2 separate regions of the Homo sapiens genome follow, and region 1 is linked to region 2. The links are contacts of gene promoters, found by promoter capture Hi-C in human tissues and cell types (Jung and others, 2019). All regions are on one chromosome and are shown on one strand. The core of a region is centred on a gene start or on the middle of the fragment in contact, and the rest is flanking DNA. Distances in the headings are between cores, read along the strand shown. Region 1 has its middle 17 kb from the start of LINC00310. Region 2 holds the start of MRPS6 (mitochondrial ribosomal protein S6).

Region 1 (3,639 bases), core at 1,049-3,548, 91 kb after region 2:
TCCCTTCTCTTCCTAACAGATACCTGGGGTACTTGAGGGAGAAGGGGAAGAGCATCCTCTTTCCCTCTTCCATCCTTGCATTCCTCGAGTCCCGGTGACCTTGGCAGGTCCTGCCATGAGTGCTAAAGCGACTTGCACCCATGAAGCAGGGAGGGCCTAGAGAATAGAAACTATCTGCTCTCACCTATGTCTCTTTCCGACCTGCTGTCAGTAGCCTTGGAGTTCCCTGGACCTCATTTATGCCATGGATATTAAGGTGGCCTTTATCCATGAAACAGGAAGCTTGGGCTTGGCTTAATCAGCAGGAATCAACCACCCTCACCTGCGCGGTGCCTTTTAACTTCTGTTTTTGTCTGCATCTGGATCTCTTAGATCCAGTTTTCTTTCATAGGGCTTTGACCCAAAGCTTGGAATTGAGTTTAGGATAAAAATATGTCTCTGGGGGGTTGCATGGACTCCTTATCATAAGCTGAATGCTAAGGTGAAGATGTGGAACTGAGTCCTCCAACAAGAGAGAAGAAAGGATGTCTTGTGACACACCCAGATAACCGGTAGCTATAGTTATGCTTTCTGGGATTTGGCTGCATGCCACTTGGCTTTGGTTAGCTACCTTGGTTTTACTTTCCCCCCAAAAAGCCTCTGGGTGATGGACATCCTATTTATTCCCATCACCTGGCAGGATTTGCAGGATAACTGCTCAGAACTAGAATATTGATCCAGATTTTTACATTTCCCATCCCTCTTGTTCTTTCTGAGCTGCAGCTGGAGATTGCTGGTTGGTTCACAGGAAGAAGCAGGGTTAGTCTAAAATGTAGGCAAAAACTTAAAAACAACTAGCGAGTTTAGAATTTAATGACAAATATAAGCTTGGAAACATGATTTCTCTCTCTCCAGTCCTCATGTTTGTTAAAAAAACAAATGATCATAGGACTGAATGGTTCGCAAAATAAACTTTAGTCTTATTCTTGGCTTGATTATTTGGATAAAGTGCAGCAAGAATAATTATTTCTACATAGGCCTTTTGGATTGGCTTTGATGGAAGTTTGTTCCACAAGAAGTCTCAGATAAGACCTTCTAAAGCTGAGCCCAACCATGGGTTTGTATCCTCAAACACCTGTGAGTTGGATGATTTTCTCCTCTTAAGGTCCCAAGATAAACTTGGAGCTCCTAGACCTGTTAGACCTGTTAGAAAGTGACATTCCACAGGTCAGGAACCCTGTACAGGGACTGCACAGACGAGCGTATGAGGTCAGTTTCCCCCATGGGGCTTTTATCGGCTCTGCGAATCGAGATTGACTCCTTAAAGGGAAGCATACCCTTCCAGTCAAAGCCTTGGTAAAATAATCACTTTCTCCAATTGTGTCCTGTTGCAAAAGAAAAATGGATTCCTATTGCACTGATGCAAACAACTATATTGCCATAAGAATACTCATAGATAGTTTCCAAATTCTAGAGGAACCAGGCAGAGAGAAACAAACATGCTCCACGTTTTCGTTCATAGGAGTATACCTTACTCAATTACTAAAGGCCATAATAGTTCAAAACAAGTTTCCTTGACTATGAAAAACAAAACAAGGATCAACAATATTCCAAGAAAAAGTCAAAAAGTTTACTTCAGCTTCGTGAGCTCAGCTTATTTAGTTAACTCCAGTTTTGTTTGATATTTGTGAACATTTCTGCTTTTTGTGAGTCCTGTACATTTTCCTTTATTCCAGTGTCACAGTCTCCAAAGTTATCAAACCTGATTGTCTCAAATACAATCAGAAATTGTATCTGAAAGCACCTGTCAGAGTCTTATACCCTGTTATAAACCATCTTTTGAAAAGGATTAAAACAAGACAACAATTGTCTATGAACAGCAGAATGTCCAGAGTAGTTACAGTTAGAAACACAATTGACAAAGAAGTTTGGTTATCTCTGTGGTTTACAATAACTTAACATAAAAACCTTAATTATGGTTGATAGCATATACTCAGACATTAGAATTTTAGAAATCCTGTACAATTTTGGAACATATATTAGCATTATTCACCAAGATATAACCTAAAGAAGATTGAGCATCATTTTGGCAATCCCATGTACCTAAACATGTCAAATAATCCTGTTTACTTCTCTTTTCTGGACACTCCAGGGGCCCTCTGAAGTATTCAAAAAGCAAGATGTCAGGAAAGACAATTTTGAAACTGAAGTTTGATTTTGGGAAGGCTAGTAAATGTTTGAGGTTTAAAACATTTGCTATTATGAAATAGAGTTCCAGATTACTATAAGTTATTTATTTTGCCAAAGTGATGACTTAGAAATTTAAAGAAACAAAAAGCTTTTATAAACCTTTATAAACTTTGCCAAAGAGCAGATTAGTATTTTAAGAATTCCTTGTTGTGTTTTTATTTCAATACTCAATTTACAGAAAAACCATATGTTTGAAATGTTTGTTCCCTGGTGCCGTAAAGAAAGAGCACTTGAACATAAATTTAATTTTCTCAGCAAGGCCATTTTTATATTTTTGGCAGAAAAGTTACACTTGCCAGCAGTTTTGCCATGAGAGTATATCGAACAAAGGAGACAGGGTCATTTATAACCTGACGCGTCCACCCTACTGCTGTGTCTGGTTTTCATTGGCAGGAACGGGACCTTACGTTTTGTATTTGTCCTGATTGGCCAGCAACTTAGAACTTTTTAAAAGAGGCAAAGACAGAGGAGAATAAAGGAAGGAAGAAGTAACTTGTGGAATGCTGAGAAAGGTAAAAACACCTTTAAATAAAGAAGAGGAACAGGCTATGACCTAATGCTTGCTTGGACCAGTATAAGCACGCCAAGGCAAATATTTAGGCTAAACTGTGGGACCTAAGAATATGAAGTATATTGACTTTTTTATTACGGCTAGCAGCTATTTAAGAATGTTAGCACAGGTCTTTGAATAAATTTTGATTTTTTTTTTTTCTTTTTTAGACGGAGTCTTGCTCTGTCACCCAGCCTGGAGTGCAGTGGCGCAGTCTTGGCCCACTGCAAGCTCTGCCTCCCAGATTCATGCCATTCTCCTGCCTCAGCCTCCTGAGTAGCTGGGACTACAGGTACCCGCCACCACGCCTGGCTAATTTTTTGTATGTTTTTAGTAGTGACAGGGTTTCACCATGTTAGCCAGGATGGTCTCAATCTCCTGATCTCGTGATCCACCTGCCTTGGCCTCCCAAAGTGCTGGGATTACAGGCGTGAGCCACCGTGCCCGGCCTAAATTTTGTTTTTAAGAGAAGTTACTATTTATTCCTAATTAGATGGAGGGGAAAGTTTTTGAAGAGGAATCTTTGCTTTTTACAGGTATAATACTCTTGAATTTAGCTAATATGTTTGCATAGAGACCCTCTTCTGCAAGATTAACTTCCACAATTCTTCCACTTCTTCTTCGAACCTTCAGCTTCTTCCTAATTTAACTCAAAACAATCTTTAAACCCTAGGTAAAGGTTTACATTTCCATGTCTTCTTATAACTTTTCACCAAAAAACCACATTTTACTGTTCTTACACACCTTGCTTGTAAATCTATTTCTAGTAGTTTCAATTAACTCCTAGCAATTTTTAACTTTAAGGTAAAACTTGGTAACTTGCTTTAATTGTGTGCTAAGTGCAGCCAAGGTTTGACTCC
Region 2 (4,131 bases), core at 663-3,162:
TATGTCACAAATAGACGCATGGGATGTGAAATGGTAACCTCTGGGTAAGGTGACAAAGGTACTCTAATCTTGGCTTACGTGGACTACACGGTTAATCCACTGAATAACAATCAGCATCTTCATCTGTGTGGTAGGAGAACCGGAGGTCAGAAGGGTAGAGGGGCGGCTAAAAGTACTTTGTTTCTATTACTGTATGACCTTGGACTAGTTACAAAACTTTTTGTGCCTACATTTCCTAATCCCTAATATGGGGTTAACAGTGCTTGCCTCTGTTTAAAAAAATTACTCAGTGATGCTTACTAAAGCATGGTAAGAAAGACTTTATTCAGGACCAACGCGATGGGTACAGGGATCAGGGAAACCCGGGGAGAGAGAGTGGGCTCCAATTCTGAATGCAGCGTCGGCAAGTAGAAATTTATGGCCATGTAAAATCACTAAGAGTAACCATCGGGGGAAGAGGGATTCTGGCTCAACCGATCTAAAGGATTCTTGTAGAACTCAGGCCAGGGTGAAAAGACATGACTGGGGGATAGAGGAAGATGAGGAACCTGATCTGCTATGAGGGGATGGGGGTTCTGTGCTAGAACTGGATTTTACAAGGAAGTGCACAGATGGGCCTAGCATGAGATTCAGAAGCCTGACTAAAGTTTGGCCAAGCAAAGAATCTTTGTCACCTCAGGGCTGTTGTGAGAATTTTAGGAGACACATCCACCAGCCTTGGCATGGGGCCTGATGCAGAGTAAGTGTTCACTAAACTTTACCTATTAACGTTAAAGCACTTTAAGTTGACAAACACTCCACGTACAGAGCTTTTAATGGGGCAAACAAGGGGCAGAGGCCTCAGCTGCAGGGTACTCAACCTCTAAGGAAGGGCGCTGGAGAAAACTGCACTTGCAGAGCCCCTGGCTGGAGGGCGGAGAACCATGTGGGTGTAAAGGGATGGCAAGGGCAGAACGTATGCCCCTGCCCACCTTAGACAGTTGCTAAAGGGTCTCCCAGGCACTCAGCCTAGCCTTTAAGTGAAAGCGGAGGAAACATTTAAAGAAATGAGATAGAGTTAAGGTGTTCGCCTGCCCTCCGCTGAAACACGTGGGGGCAGGTCAGGGGCACACCACAAATGCCCGTATCGCGCCTGTGTGTACCAGGCACCGTCCTCGGAGGTTAACGTGCAGTAACTCACTCGGGTCCCCACTTTCGGCACAGGCAGCAGGCCCAAGGTCACGCAGTGCCAAGGGACTGAGTCAGACCCGAGCCCGCGCGCCGCGGCCCACGGCCTGTGCCAGCGCGCTCCTCGCCGGGTAGGGGGCCTGGTCAGCCGCGTCAGACCTGAGAGTTGTGGCTGGGGGCGAGAGCTGCACCCCCCTACCGACCCCGGGCGGGAATGTTCCAGAACCCCTGCGAGCAGCCGTTGGCCGCACAGCCCCCGGGCCGGCCGCGACCCCGCCTTGCGCCGCGAAGGTCCCTAGCTCCGGGGAGTCGCGGGCGAGGGGCACGCGCACGGACGAGACCGCACCGCAGCGCACGCGCACTGGCGGGCACTCACTCGCCCGCCGCCCGGGAGGAGAAGGAAGGCATGGAAAGTTCCAGCCGGTTCGAGAGCTAGGTAGCAGGCATGGCAGGAGGCGGGGTAGGGGCAGGCAGGGTCGCGAGGGGGCGTGCGGCCGCCGCGAGCCGCTCTGGGCCGCGTCTGCAGCACCGCCCCTAGCCGCGGCCGGCGGGCTGGGCTGGGGTCGGGGCGGGGGCGGTGCGGCGGGTGCGGGGCTGCGGAGGGGGCGTGGCGGCCGCCCGCGGGCGGAGAGGGGGCGGGGCGGCGGCAAGGCGCGCGGGCGGGGCGGGGCGCGCCGAGGGGGCGTGGCGCGGCGTCTGCGCAGCTGCCAGCGCCTTTAAGCCCGGGCTCGCGCTCTCGGACCGTGCTTTCGCCGCCTGGGAGCCGTCCGGCGCAGCAGTTTCTAGGTCCCCACTGTCCCCGCCGTCCCGCCCCTTCGCGTCCCGGGAACCGGCTGGCTTCCGAGCCGCACTCGCCGATCCTCCAGGCATGCCCCGCTACGAGCTGGCTTTAATCCTGAAAGCCATGCAGCGGGTAAGTGACCTTCCCTCAGAGCCGGTCTTCCCGCGCGGGCGCCCCCGCTGCCGCTAGGCCGCCGTCCCCCGCGCGCCCTGGCCGCGGGACCCCGGGCCTTCCTGCACTCCTCGGAGGAGGCCGGGGCGGCGGGCGGGCGGCGGGCGTCCGCGGGAAGGGGGCGCGCGTGGGCCGGCCGGGCCCGGCCGCGTGCGCGCGGGAGGCGGGGGTGTGCCTGCGCGTGTGCGCGGTCCGGGAGGGTGTGCCTCGCAAGCGGCCCGCCGGGCGGGGGGCGGGGCGGACCGAGCGGGCCCCGACCCCGATCCCGGCGCCGGCCCGCGGGAGTCCAGTGGAAGGTCCGCGGGAGGACACGCGCGGGCGCCCAGCCCGACTCCGGCCCGTCCCCGCCAGTCGTGAAGCTGCCTCGTCGCCGGCCCCGCCGCCGCCGCCTGGTCCGTCCCGCTCCGCCGCCCGCCGGCTGCCGCCGACCGCCTCCGCTCTAGCGCCCGCCGGCCGCCCGGAACGTCCGCGCCCAATAAAGCGTTCCTCCAAAGCTTGTTTGTGCCGTTGTCTGTATTCCAGTCTCTTGCAATCGCTCTCATGTTAAAAAAAAATCTTTTGACTTTTCTTTTTCTGACTTCAGCGAAAATCCCGCTCCGGGTGCCCTTAGCCCAGTTTCATTCATCCAAGTTGTGGCCTTTCTTGCGCCTCCAGAAGACACTTTCTTCCCCCTGCTTTTGATTGATCTTGAGGTAGGGGATTTCAGGTTTGGAGGGATGCTAAGCGAACCAGCGGCCCCTTTCAGGTGACGGCGTGGCCAAGGACAGGGGCCCGCGGCCCGGAGGCAGCTCACTTCGTCCTCTGTCCTGGGTCATGTACTCCTCAAGTCGTCGCCGAAATCCCCATTCTCCCGTGAATTCGGAATTCGGTAACGTAGTTTGGTGTTATGTTTTTTTTTCTCCACCAGGTGTAATAAAACAAAAATCATTGTACCACGTCCGAACTTTGTAAGCACAGCTTCCTACAGCGCTAGAGGAGTGGACGCATTTTTACGTTTGAAATTAGGCTCCAGGTCAATTGCGAGGAGTATTACCAAGTTTGGTTGAACTTAAGCTCAATTGATAAACTAACAATCACGGAGCGTCGGGAGATTGTTAGGAAGTGTGCTTTGCATATTGTTAACTGGGAAGGGACGCCAGTGCCTCTCTATGAGGTCCAGACAGCCTGGCCAGGCATGCCATTGTGTCCCCCAGCTTGTTCTTCATGGATTTGGAAGAAGTTAAGATAGTATCTGTTCAGCCTCTTGAATATCCCTTTTGGCCCTCCTCCTTGCTTACCAGCATATGTAACTCCGAAAGGATAGGAGCAGTGAAAACAAAGCATTATTAAAAGGGAAGATTTTTAATTAGGTGGAAGTTGTTTAAGCCCTCCCTTCAACTTACGTGTTTTAGGGAATGTGGAACCTGGGAAATTCGTTACTGAAATTCCTTTTGTTTACTTTCCTTGTCTTGGGGAGGTAGCAGGTGACACTGAAAGAGGCAACCTGTAGGCAATAATATTTGCTCATTCTGTAACCCTTTGAAACCTTTGAAATGAAGACTTGCCCTCCCCTTTGTTTTTGCCATAGTTGCCAAGTATCTTGGTTAACATGGCTGCAAGTATTAAGTGTATTTCTTTTACCATTTTTTTTTATGTCCTGTAATAACATAGCCTTTGGATGTGGAGCACCCATTTTTCACTCTAGTTCAGATCAACAGAGCGTAATTTGGTTAAAATAATAAATAACCTTCCTTGAAATCTTCGCATGAGGGAAGGGGGGCAAAAAAAAGAAAAAAAGCCCTAGAAAGTAGATAATAAAGGTGAACTGCCTCTTGGAGAAAGAGGCCCCATGGCAGTAGATAGAAGGTTGTAACAGTGGTGACTTATGTACAATGGCGAAGTTATGTTGAGGAGATCCTTGACCTAAATAAAGTAATATTAAACAATAGCTTCTCAGTTATTTGTTCAAAAACCTATCTGTAGCTTGTAAATGTGGCACAAACACAAAGACTTCCAGGTTTTAGACCAGTTTG

Evidence for each region. Contacts are between HindIII fragments. The study calls those that stand out against the background at their distance.
Region 1: a fragment that was not itself captured here is called in contact with the fragment with the promoter of MRPS6 in region 2 in 4 of the 25 tissues and cell types used here (H1 embryonic stem cells, adrenal gland, hippocampus and 1 more).

Annotation. Positions count from the first base shown.
Region 1 is chr21:34,161,966-34,165,604 of GRCh38, forward strand. No RefSeq gene overlaps it. Among named protein-coding and RNA genes, the nearest start is that of LINC00310, 17 kb to the right of the region's middle. The HindIII fragment of the contact is 3,908 bases long and covers 345-3,639 here.
Region 2 is chr21:34,071,666-34,075,796 of GRCh38, forward strand. MRPS6 (mitochondrial ribosomal protein S6) reads left to right here and starts at 1,913. Exons shown (of 3, transcript NM_032476.4): 1 at 1,913-2,080. The coding sequence starts at 2,036. It overlaps SLC5A3 (solute carrier family 5 member 3), which reads left to right and starts at 1,913. Exons shown (of 2, transcript NM_006933.7): 1 at 1,913-2,080. RefSeq lists silencers at 1,361-1,880, 2,171-2,570 and an enhancer at 1,824-2,774. The HindIII fragment of the contact is 15,607 bases long and covers 1-4,131 here.